2 separate regions of the Homo sapiens genome follow, and region 2 is linked to region 1. Evidence: promoter capture Hi-C in human tissues and cell types (Jung and others, 2019). All regions are on one chromosome and are shown on one strand. The core of a region is centred on a gene start or on the middle of the fragment in contact, and the rest is flanking DNA. Distances in the headings are between cores, read along the strand shown. Region 1 holds the start of SMOC2 (SPARC related modular calcium binding 2). Region 2 overlaps SMOC2 (SPARC related modular calcium binding 2).

Region 1 (6,353 bases), core at 533-3,032:
TTTTGTTGCTTAGGAGATCTGGCTAAGACATTTGGCCCCTTTGACTTTTGTTCCTCATCTGTAGAATGGGAATAATTAAGTCTGCTTCTTGTCTGCCATTCTTGCAGCGGACGATGGTGGATAAATGAACATGCTTTCAAACTTTTGAGTTCTGACGAGCAGTACTCTCAACAAAGTGGAAAGTGAAAAACAGGTTCTTTAGTAGCAAATACTTCTTAAAGGAAGTATGTCAGCTTCGAGTGTAAATTTTATTCTTTGGATAATCTTAGAATTAGTGGTATGTAGTGTTTATTTTCTTTTTACTTTAATTTTCACTGCAGTTCCCTAACAGTGATTCCTATTTACTTAATCATTTGCAGCTGCTCTGCTCACCTGTTTTTCTGGACCCAGGAGCAGTCCCTCAAGAGTTTTATTATAATTTCCTTCTAAGTCCTTAAACCAGGAGGAATGTGTTTAAGTGCTTAATAGATTCCCTGGGCTTTGGAATTTTAAGGAGAATTCTGAGAGTAGCCCTCCTTCAGGAAAAGGTGCATTTCTTTCCCGTCTTTCCGTGGCCCGACGGACATCACTTTCCTGATAAAATTGTGTGGGAAAGGTTGCAATAGCATTGCCTTTGCCTCAGCAGCCAGTCCCAGAACTTGCTGATACAGCCCCCTCCCCCAAAGTTCATAGCCAAAGCAGTGGGCTAGACATCGGATGAAACCTCAGATTTGGATTTTCTGTGTTTTGTGCTTTTCCCAATGCCCCTGACAAGTCAATTGATTCATTGTTCTTGAACAAATCTTCACTCTTCTGGCTTTCTGTGTGAGACAGAATTAGGGCTTTTTCCTGTAAAGTTATAAGCCAAGGCTAAACTATGTCAGCAATGTTGTCTGCAGTGGATATTATCCAGAGTCTGGGTGTGCAAAAATTTCCTGGTTTCCAACGTAGTCTTCGTGGGTGAGTTTACAACCTCCACAAGCCCTGTGCTCCCCGCACAAACACCTGAAATGCTTTGACAGAGCTGTTTAAAAACAGCCACATGTGTCTGTGAATGATGCCCAACCACATGCTCCCCCGACTTGAGAGGATCAAGGCTACAGCCCAGGTCAGACCCCGGATCTTTAGGACCTAAATTCCCCCATCCCTGCAGTGGATAACCCCGTGTAAAGATGCCAAAGGCGGGCTGCCCCCGGCGCAGCCTTTCCTGGACATGTGTTCCCAGCTGCCTTTGCTGGAGCGCCGCTGATCCTTCAGCACCTCTGAGAGGCAATGTTCTGGGCTGGACCAGGGGGCCTTAGAGGGCAGAGGTCAAGGAGAACCCCGGAGTCTGGGGACCGGCCAAGGCTTGGCGTTAACCTTTGTGGATGAAAAGTCCCGCTGGGCTGATCCTGCGCGGACCGGGCCTGGACCCTGGGGCGTGAGGAGGGCGCGGTGCGTCCCGTGGTTGTGCTTGGAAGCCCCCCGAGGGTGCGCGCGCGTGGGTATGAGTGCGTGCGTGTGCCTGGGTGTGCGTGTGTGTAAGTGTGCACGTGTGTGTGTGAGAGTGCGCGCGGGGAAGGAGGCACAGAGACAGCCCGGACAGGCCACTGCGCAGCCCTGGTGGCCCCCGCTCCACCTCTCGCTCCGCAGACCCGCGCCAGGGAGGCCTCTGGGCCGCAGCGGGCACCGGAGCGGAGCGGGCGCGGCAGCGGGCGCTGGGAGGTGGGGCTGGGGGAGGAGAGGGGGAGGGAGAGAGGCGGGCGGGAGGGGAGGATCCGGGAAGCTCCGGGGTATTTGACAGGAGCGAGGGCGGACGCAAAGAACGCGGAGGACCTCTGGGTGCCTGCAGGGGAGCTGCTCCAGCCGGGCCGCCGGGAGCGGTGGGGAGAGCATCGCGGAGCCGCCCCTCCACGCGCCCGCCCAGCCGCGCTCGCCCACTGGGCTCTCCCGGCTGCAGTGCCAGGGCGCAGGACGCGGCCGATCTCCCGCTCCCGCCACCTCCGCCACCATGCTGCTCCCCCAGCTCTGCTGGCTGCCGCTGCTCGCTGGGCTGCTCCCGCCGGTGCCCGCTCAGAAGTTCTCGGCGCTCACGGTAAGCCCGGGCCCGCGGGACCTGGAGCTCAAGTGGTGCCGCCTCTTGCAGCCGGCCGGGTTCGGGTCCCCGCGCCCCGCTCCAGGCCCAGGCGCCTGGGCACGGGGAGCAGGTGGCCCCGGGGGCCGTGGAGCCTTCGCCTGCCGGCGAGGCTGGAGCAGGTAGGACGCAGCGTGCGCGCCTGGGACCCGGCTGGGATGGGCTTCTGGGGACCCTGCCCGCCGGGGTCCTGCTGCGGCTGCGACGGGCTCCTCGGGTTCCACCCGGCTGGGACCCCACCTGCCTCGGGGGCTCTGACCCGGCTGTGAGAGGATCCTGGGGTCCTGCAGACCCCGGACAAGTGGGAGCTGCGGGTGCGCTCGGGTGTCCCGCACTCACTGCTGGGCCTGAGCCTGTGGGGAACCAGGTCTGGGAGCGCCGGCGCCGCCCCGCGGACTGTCCCAAGGCCAAGACAGACCCGCCGGGACTGGGCGCCCACCTCGCCCACGGGGACCCGGCCTGGAGCGTGTTCTCCCGACCGCTTTGGGCTCGTGCGCCGCGCGGATCCCGGGCCTCTCGCCGGCTGAAGGGGCTGCCAGTCGTGGGCCCCACTCGTGGGTCTGACTCTCCCAGAGACCCTCGTAAGTGAGCCGAGGAAGAAGCAGATGAGGTTACAGATGATTCTTCACGGGCCTGAGTGTTATTAGAGAAGCGCTTTCTTCCCTTCTCAGGACAGAACTGGAGGCAGGCGGCGGCTCCCCGCTCTGCGGGGCCTCTGGGTTCTTCCTCGTGGCAGGGATGCTGCGCTCCTGAGCGCGAGGGTCACCGCGGTTGACCGCTGTGTGTTTTTCTTTCTGAGCTGTAACTTCTATGCGACAGCCTTGGCCCGGCCAACGCACGCGGTGTCAAACGAGGAGCTATGTAGAGGGGGCTGAGCCAAGCCCCCGCCGGCCAAGCCAACCCGCGGCGGCCGCTGGGCCAAGGCCGGGTGTCTGCAGCCCCCAGCTCCAGCCGTCCTCCTGGGCTTGCAGGGTTTGCAAACCCATCATTAATGCAATCGCCAGAAACGAAAACATTCCACTTAAATGTGTTTTTGAACAAGTGTTTGAGAAAACACGAAGGTAGTGAGAACGCCTCTGGTGGACAGCCGTCTTTTTTAAGTGGCCGGGGACTTGTCCTAAAGGTGTTTATTGTATTGAAAATAAAGATGGTTGAAATAAGCTGTGGTCGGTTCTGCCTTTCAGCAAATTTAAAACAGTCATGTGGGCATCTTTTCTTTTTCTTTTTCTTTTTCTTCGTCTTCTTTCTTTTGCGTTTTAGCAGTGTGAAGGATGGTTTGTGAGTTCATTGCTCATACCTCAAATTCTTCTGCAGCAGCCCGGGGTCCCTGCCTTGTGTCTCACAAATGACTTGTAGATTAGAAACTGCTAACTGGGGCTCCAAGGAGGTTTTCACACACTCAGGCTTTCCCTGAAGATCCTTTATCTCCCCAGAGGGGGCCCTCAGAGGATACTCACTGGAGGCATTCATGTATATGCACATCTGTACATGCATCTAGACATAAATATACTCACGTATACACTCACAAAAAGACCCCCCACATACTCTTAAAGCACACTAGAGGAGACAGAGAAACTAAGGCCAATTCTCCAAAGGAGATCATAGCATTTTCTTCCAGGACTGTAGCAGCAGGTACCTACAGTTGCCACGGATTTTCAGATTTTCTGAAAGCGCAAAAAGTAGAGACTGCCATCTGCCTGCTGCCCTGTGTGTGTGGGGGGTGGGGTTGGGCCTGTTGGTCCCCCCTGGAAGAGCAGAATCAAGGTAGTTAGTAATTAGAACAGTTTAAGACTCGGCAGGTTTTCTTGTCTTCTCTCCCCTGTCTCATCTAACTATTTACTTGAACCCTCTCACCTTTTGCCCCCTTGAGGTTGCCCCAAGGATGTCTTGGGTTGCGGTGAGACCCGCTGCATGTGGGGTCTCTGTGCAGGAGCTGATACCCCACGTGGGCTTTGCCCTGTTGGCTGCATTCCCCAAGAACAGTTTGCCTGAAATTTACATTTGCAAATAAAATCAGTATCCCGAAGAAAAGATTAAAGCCATAACACATTTTGGCACACTTCTTCTCACCCCACCCCCAGTCTAGAAAATCAAGAAGTAGTTGAGTTACAAAGTAACTGAGGCAGGCCTGAAATCTGACTGGTCGCTGGGAGATGTGAGATGTGCAGGATTTTTCAGTGTGCTCATCTCTTTTCAAATTGCCTTCTGGTTTTTGGAAATCTCTTTTGTCTCCGGAGGCCCTCATTCAAAGAAGGGCCTTCTCTCCCTACGATTTGCATCCTACCTACTTTAATAAATCAAGAGGCAGTATCAGTCCATGCAGTGGGTGGGACCCACAGCTTAGGGTCTTGCTGGATGTGTGACTTCAGGCAAGTTACTTAATTTCATAATCTTCAGTCCCCTTATCTGTAAAATGAGAATACATAATCTCTTTCAAGCATGTGGTGAGGATTAAAGGTAGGGCTTTTAATGCGCCTACTATATGTGAGTTCTCCAGCTAACATTGTTTTGATGGTGCCCATGCCGTGGGTCCGTATAAGAGAGTGCTATCAATTGATACCGTAATTATCAATGCATATAGCGTTGTGGCATTAAGGTGTGTGTGGATTCAACTTTGCAGTATTTTCACCTGCCGCAGATTCTCAGAGCACACCACTTGGCTCTGGGTGTATCTGTGGACTTTGTGGGAGTAGCCATGTGGGACTCTATAGACCAAGGAGGAAAGCTTGCCTCTCTGCCTCCTTCTACTCCATTCATTTCTTCTCATCTAGAAGCAGGGAAATATGTCAGCCTCTCTGGGGCTTTCAGTTTGCCATACCTGGCTTCTCAGGACCACGCATTTGTCTTACTCACCTATGGTGAGTGTGCTTTCTTGGTGGGTCCAGCATTGCTGGTGTGCTCACCTCTGCTACTTTATGTTTAAGATTCAGAGAATCCACTTTGTCTGGTAATGATCTCTCTTCTTTCCACCAAAGTCATTCTTTAGAAATGGCACCATGAGGCCCTCTGTGTCTCTCATTGTGACTTTCTGATGGCTTTGCACAACTTCCTGGTTATTGCTCAGACCCTCTCACCTCCAGTCAACAATGGCATTCTTAAGTGTGTCCAATGCGCTCTTAATTTGGATGCAGGTCAATTTCTTCCTTGAAGAAGGAGGTACATTGAATGCCACACCGTGCCCATTTTCCTTTTTATTTCTGTGAATGACTGAGATGAGGGAATGATCTCTAGTATAAATGGTTTTTATTACACATAATTCTGTTTTCAAAGAGCAAACAGGCGTGATCACAATTACTCAACTTTATCATGGTTGTCATTATATGAATTTTGATGGACTGATCCATAAGCCCATACCTAGGTGATTTCTTTAAAGGCAGAGAGAAGAACAATATTGCCTGGGACCCCTTTCCCAGAAGTTTTTGGTTAGAGCCAAAGTATTCATTCCCATGTTGACTAAATCATATTTTGCTCACACTTAGAATGTTGAAGTCACATTACCATCCTTCTCAGACTTCTCTTACTGCCAATACCTAACGCTCCCCTAAGGTCATACGCACGACTTCGTTAAAGGTACCGTTGTCTCCACATTCAAGAGATGAGGAAACTGAAGTTTTGAGAGACTCTGAAGGGCACCTGGTCACTAAGCAGATCCGAATATTTCTCAAGTCATCCTGCCATTATTTTTCTTTCTTCGTGGGAGTTCCCTGCACTGTTTTTTGCACTGTCTTCAGGAACTTTACAATTCCACACTGCCGTTTCACCTCTCAGACTGTAGTTGACTTTCATCCTGAATCCTCATCTTCTCACAGAGGGTCTGGCACCTGGTAAATGCCTCTTATTGGTCTTGTGGAATGCATGACCACAGACCTGAAACAGTTATTTCCCACTCCTATTTGTGTTTATTTGCTTTGAAAGAGAAGAAAGGTGATAAGAAAACAATATTTAGCCATGTGTAATTTTTTTAAAGTTTCATTAGCAAGTTCATGAGATGATTTAATATTGATTTTGCTGAAACAGCCAAAATAAAAATGCTATTCCATTTCTGAGCAGTTGTGGTTTGGAATGCGTACCTCATCCTGTTTTGATATAGTTCTCACTCAGCCTTGGATCTTCAAGGGAATTACTGTGATTTTTTTTCCTTTCTTCTTCCATTGCAAATGCCTTGAGTCCATTTCATGCTCTGGGAGGGCTTCTACTGCATTCCCCAGTAGAAGACGGACCACGAAGGTGGTTAAGGAGGAGAGAACTAAACATAATCAAA
Region 2 (6,248 bases), core at 12-2,511, 80 kb after region 1:
TCTTGCAATGGTTTGCAGTTTCTCTTAACTTTCTCTTTACAATTTGGCAATCTCAGTTACATATTTAGAGATTTCCTATTATAATTTTGTTTCTGCCTTTATGCATTTAAAAAGAGAATACTTACGTAAAACGAAAATGTCGTTCCTGTCTCCCTTAGCTCTGAAATGGTGTCGTTCTGGTCATGGTTGAGGGAAGGTTGGACGGATGCGCTAGTCTGCTGCTGTGGGGATGCATCATGCTGCTTTTGCTGGCCAAGGGCTGCAGACCACTGGGGTTGGGGGCGCTTATCACAGCACTTTCATCTATATTAGGATATTAGGATGGAAAAGAATACTTCAGTTCTGCTGGAGAGTGTTGCAGCATGGCATTCTTAGTTTTTCTGACTCTGGCCTTCAAAATTACGGGTGGGTAAAATACTACAACTTTTAAAACACAGTGTCTGCCTTCATTTGATGCCAAAATCAATAAAAGCCATGCCACTCTGAGGGCTATCATTGCCGTGGCCACTACAAAGACACCATATGTGTCCTCTGCCTGGCTGCCATTTGCTCGTTCAGCCCGTGGCATTCCCACACCAGCCCCGTCCCGGCCAGCCCTGCACTGGCTCATGGGGAGATGGCAGTGCAAGCTGAGCCTGAACTTGAAGAGTTTACATGGCCGTGGCCATAATCATAGCCATTCAGTGACCTCGCGAGATCCAGAGTCAGAGCATCTGTTGACCAGAAACATATCCAGCTAGCTGCTCCTTCCATATCGATAAATGAGACACCACAGTCATTACCTGTGTCCCAAAGTTCTCTGCCTATTGCAGTAGGAAGCTGAGTGGCATCAAAGTCTTGAGACACCATCTCTGGTGTAAACCAAAGCATCTTGGAAGACCAACAGGAAGAGTTACTTTGATTCACTTTTGCCTAGCTTAGTGTGTTTATGTTATTCGATTCTGTTACAGACAGGAGTCCCTGAGAGAGGAACTCTCTGGGCTTAGGACTACCAAATTCATCATCACCTGTGAAGATCACTGTTTCTTGGCCCTGTTTTGAAAAGTTTTCTCAAAGATCCCTTTTAACTGTTCCTTTTAATTGTTGCTCTCCAGATCTCTGTAAAATGTTCAGCAAAGCAATCTCTGCTGATTCTTGCCTAATCCTGTTTTGAGAGATTCTAGCAAAGTAGGGAATTATTTGCTTTCCGTTTAAAAGAAAACACTCATCATAAGTAACCATTATAAAACACTGTTTTCATTTCTACTTTGTAGTGAGCATCACATTTTAATGGTTTCCATGACATATCTTTTTTTTTCTTTTGAGACAGAGCCTTGCTCTGTCACCCAGGCTGGAGTATGGTGGCACGATCTCGGCTCACTGCAACCTCCACCTCCCAGGTTCATGTGATTCTCCTGCCTCAGCCTCCTGAGTAGCTGGGATTACAGGTGCCCACCACCAAACCTGGCTAATTTTTGTATTTTTAGTAGAGGTGGAGTTTCACCATGTTGGCCAGGCTGGTCTTGAACTCCTGACCTCAGGTGATGCACCCGCCTTGGCCTCCCAAAGTGCTGGGATTACAGGCGTGAGCCACTGTGCCAGGTCTCCATGACATATCTTGATATGTAAACAAGCTTGTAATCTGATTGGAGCCTATTTTGTTTTGTAACTGAGAGAGATGAAATATCATCCAACAGGTAGAAATAAATTGCTTGCACAATTAACTATCATTAACCAAAAATTCATCAAAATATTTCTGTTAGGGCTAGGCGTGGGGGCTCATGCCTGTAATCCCAGCATTCTGGGAGGCGGGAGGATTGCTTGACACCAGGAGTTCAAAACAAGCCTGGGCAACAAATCAATACCCCATCTCTACGAAAATTAAAAAATTTGCCAGTCGTGGTGCCTGTCTTCCCAGCTACTGGGCAGGCTGAGGTGAGAGGATTCCTTGAGCTCAGGAGGTTGAAGCTGCAGTGAGCCGTGATGGCACCACTGCCCTCCAGCCTTGCCGACAGAGACCCTGTCTCTAAAGCAAAACAAAACCTGTTGTTAGTGATGCCTTGCTAAGCAATGATGAGTTCTTTCTTTATAAAGTCCCGGCTCTGCAGGTAAGAGCAAACATTTTCTAAAAATAGATGACAAAATTCACATAAGAAAGTTTTTATTTGGTCTAGTAAAAAGTGACTAAATTCTTCAATTAGAAGGAGATTAACACTTTTATTTAAAGTGTTAATATTATAATTTCCAGCTAAGATGTTTTTCTCTGAGGTAGACATTGATTATAGTAATATAATACTATGAGCCAAAGTACTATGAAACCATTTCATCCCAGTCAGATGGTTACAACAGTGTAACAAAGACAAAATAAATTCTGGGTGGATAAACACTTGTGTCTGTTGGCTGGACATACAACGGTTTAGCACTGTGGCAGACAGCAGGCACTCCCTCCGTAAGTTACATGCAGGACTGCCATGTGAACCATCATTTCTACTCCATCATTTCTACTTTTTACCCAAAAGACTTGAAAACAGGCGTTCAAACAAAAATTTACATCTGCATGTCTATAACAGCATTATTTACAATAGCCAAAAGATCCTAAGTGTTCATCCATGAGTGAATGAATAAACAAAATATGGTCCATCTGTTCAATAGAATATTATTCAGCCATAAAAAGGAACATGGCTCTGAAACATGCTGTAACATACATAAACCTTGACAACATCACGCTAAATGAAGGAAGCCAGACACAGAAGGATACCTCGTGTATGATTACATTGATGGTGTAGACATGCATGAACACACGTACATGAACCTTGAAATCATCATGCCAAGTGAAGGAAGTCAGACACAGAAGTATACCTCGTGTATGATTACATTGATGTACCATCTCTGGTGTAGACATACATCAGCATACATACATGAACCGTGAAAACATCAGGCTAAGTGGAGGAAGCCAGGCACAGAAGGATACCTCGTGTGTGATTGCATTGATAGGAAATGCCCAGAATAGGCAAATTTGTAGAGACAGGAGGTAGACGGATAGTTCTAGGGGTTGAGGTGAGGGGGAAATGGGGAATGGCAGCTTAACGGGCATTCTTTTGGGAATGAGGAGAATGTTCTGGAACTAGGCTGAGGTGGCAGTTGCCCAACACTATGAATGTGCTACATGCCACTGAATCGTTCACTTTAAAATGGATAAGATGGTAAATTTTATGTTATTTGTAGTTGTACAGTAATTTTTTTTTTTTTTTTTTTTGAGACGGAGTCTCGCTCTGTCGCCCAGGCCGGACTGCGGACTGCAGTGGCGCAATCTCGGCTCACTGCAAGCTCCGCTTCCTGGGTTCACGCCATTCTCCTGCCTCAGCCTCCCGAGTAGCTGGGACTACAGGCGCCCGCCACCGCGCCCGGCTAATTTTTTGTATTTTTAGTAGAGACGGGGTTTCACCTTGTTAGCCAGGATGGTCTCGATCTCCTGACCTCAAGATCCACCCGCCTCGGCCTCCCAAAGTGCTGGGATTACAGGCGTGAGCCACCGCGCCCGGCCAGTAATTCTTTTTTTTTTGTGGCAGAGTCTTGCTCTGTCACCCAGGCTGGAGTGCAGTGGTGCGATCTCAGCTCACTGCAATCTCTGCCTCCCAGGTTCAAGTGATTCTCCTTCCTCAGCCTCCAGAGTAGCTGGGAACACAGGCGCCTGCCACCATGCCTGGCTAATTTTTTTTTTTATTATTTTTATTTTTAGTAGAGACGGGGTTTCACCATGTTAGCCAGGATGGTCTTCATCTCCTGACCTCGTGATGCGCCCACCTCAGCCTCCCAAAGTGCTGGGATTACAGGCATCAACCTCCGCACCTGGCCGTCATACAGTAATTTAAAAAATTATGTTGCTTATGTTCTGGGGATTTAATAATCAAACAGTTAAACATAAAGTGTTCAGAGTGGAATCTCAACAAGGCTGTTAAACAGTTAGGGTTCTGCTTAATTTTTAACTCAACCAAAGAATCATACAGAGTAAAAATATATTAAGGAGAGACATTTATCATCATCTGTAAATAAGGTTTCCAGGGGACAGTGTTGAAGCATCCTATTCCATTCTTTCAAAGCGATTAAAAAGTTGGAAAGTTGGAAATAGTATAATTTTGAGGGTGTGTTTAACATTTTGATTTTTATAAAGAGGGGCATTTAATTCAGTCTAAGGTATGTCTGTATCAAGCATATAATGGCTTAGAGTGATATTGAGAACACACGGGGGCCATGACTGTTTCTGAGTGCTCATTCTCTGGCAATTTTGTGCCTCTCGGTAGAATGGACCTTGTCGGATGCTGGTCAGGCACTTCTCTGTAGTAAAGATCTTGAACCTGATTTAACACGAGATATCCAGAATAAGGAATAGCAAATCTGTGGAATAAGCCGCAACCCTGTAGCAGTTTTACTTCATAAGATGACTGCAGGTTTATTTTGAGTGATGATTTATGCAGGCCTTGTAATTTCATGCTAAGTCTTAATTGTTTCCTATGACTAAATAGTTTGCCATAGGCTAGACGTAAACTTGGAATTTAATATTCTATTAAACCCAAGAGCTGCAGATTTCAGAACTATCTGACCAGTGGCAAATGTGAAGTCTTTAAAAGAAGTCCACGCCAAGAATGGAGCCCACAGGAGTTTGGAAAACTTAGCTTTCTTGGCATGTTCCATGATAGCTCAAATATTAGACCTAATTTATAGCTCCATCTGTACCTCGTGGAGACCTCGCAAGCTGGAACTCATATCACTTTTCCTTTTTAGACAGTCAAAACCACAGGTTATACTAAAAAACGAGGACAGAAGTCCAGCAAAGCAGTGATTTCTCCTCAGCTAAAACACAGACTGCATTAAAACCACATGTTGCTGAGTGCTGGCTGGCCAGGCCAGACTTTAGAATAAAGCTGAAGGCATGAAGCTGGGATGCATGGAGGAGCGTTTGCTCAGATGTGTAGGCCCGTAATGCTCTATGCAGCATGTGGCCGGTGGTTCTGCAAAAGCCAGAGAGGAGTCGCACAAAGGCCCTGGAGCATTGTTAGAGGCGGAGCCTGTAGGAGCCCGCTGTGACGGGTGGAGCCCAGGGCTGGTAATCGGATCGCATTTTGCCATAGCCAGCACTTTAACCACGAGGGAGTCAAAAAGTCACCATCTGAAGACGGAAGTGAACAACATTTGAAGAAGAGTCCTTGGAGTCGAGACGGCCTTTGTGCTCTCTCAAGATGCAGGCACTTGTGATTGAAATCTGGAAATACGTTTTTTAAAAAGGAAAGCCATTTTTTCAAGTTTTAAAATTCAAATAAGCTATATGGTGTGATGGTCCCAAGAAGTAAAGCATGCATGTGTGTTCTGCTTCCGGGGAGGCGGCCCATGGCAGCCAACGTGACGTCGTCTCCTGTGGTGGGAGGCTGTTCTTAGGACAAGCCTTTTCCCCCTGGGGGCACTGAAAGATGGGCCTGGTTGATGCTGGGCTCACAGCTTTCACTCCCTGGGCTGGAAGGCTGAGAAGAGCTTCAGTAAGCAACCGACTTTGTGGTCCTCACGTGTCTTAACCTGGCCCTGATTGTGCAAGTTAGGGAGAAACAAGGCCTGCTTGTGGCACACACGGATCCTGCATTACTGCTTTTCATGTCTCTGTATTTCTGAATTAGTTTTTTTCCACAGTGAGCTTAGATATGCCTGGAAGTCTAAAGACTTTTCCAGTTTTGCTCATCCTTGGGGTGTCTTCTTAAGTAGTAGCAGTGACGTTGCGCCTTCTGTGAAATCTGTGTTGTTGGGAAGGTGGGATGTGGAGCCTCTGGGGCAGAGGATGAGGCTTTCTAAGAAGACCTGACCCTTTTATCCACCTGACAGTCAGATTTCCATGTGAAGGTGGAAGAGGCAGGACGGGAAACAGAGAAAAGGGACGAGCCACGCTCTCCTCTCAGGCTGGTCTCAGTGGGACGGTGCCCTGGGCTGCAGCTGTGGTTGGAAGTCCCACCGCGTGCGTCCTGAGACCCCCGCCCCTCAGTCACTTCCCTTTGGTCTGTTTTTAATGGTGGCATCTAGCCCTGCCCACCCTCTGCATCTGGACTTGATCCTGGTGTGTTCAGGTGGTCGTCCTTGGATCTGAGGACAGCCTGCCTCCGTCCCACCAGGCAGCTGGCGTTTCCCCATTTTCAGGAAGCAGGGGCCACCTGTTTCCCCAGGGATAAGCTAGGAGGCCTTCCTGGGCCTCAGTGTTCTTCCTCACTCAATGTGGAGAATGGGCCTGC

What was found. The method cuts DNA at HindIII sites, captures the fragments that hold promoters and counts their contacts. A contact is called where the count stands out against the background at its distance.
Region 2: a fragment that was not itself captured here is called in contact with the fragment with the promoter of SMOC2 in region 1 in 2 of the 25 tissues and cell types used here (adrenal gland and heart right ventricle).

Annotation. Positions count from the first base shown.
Region 1 is chr6:168,439,402-168,445,754 of GRCh38, forward strand. It overlaps SMOC2 (SPARC related modular calcium binding 2), which reads left to right and starts at 1,783. Exons shown (of 13, transcript NM_001166412.2): 1 at 1,783-2,053. The coding sequence starts at 1,970. The HindIII fragment of the contact is 15,076 bases long and covers 1-6,353 here.
Region 2 is chr6:168,519,865-168,526,112 of GRCh38, forward strand. The region is part of intron 2 of SMOC2 (SPARC related modular calcium binding 2); the gene reads left to right. Among named protein-coding and RNA genes, the nearest start is that of SMOC2, 82 kb to the left of the region's middle. The HindIII fragment of the contact is 5,960 bases long and covers 1-4,241 here.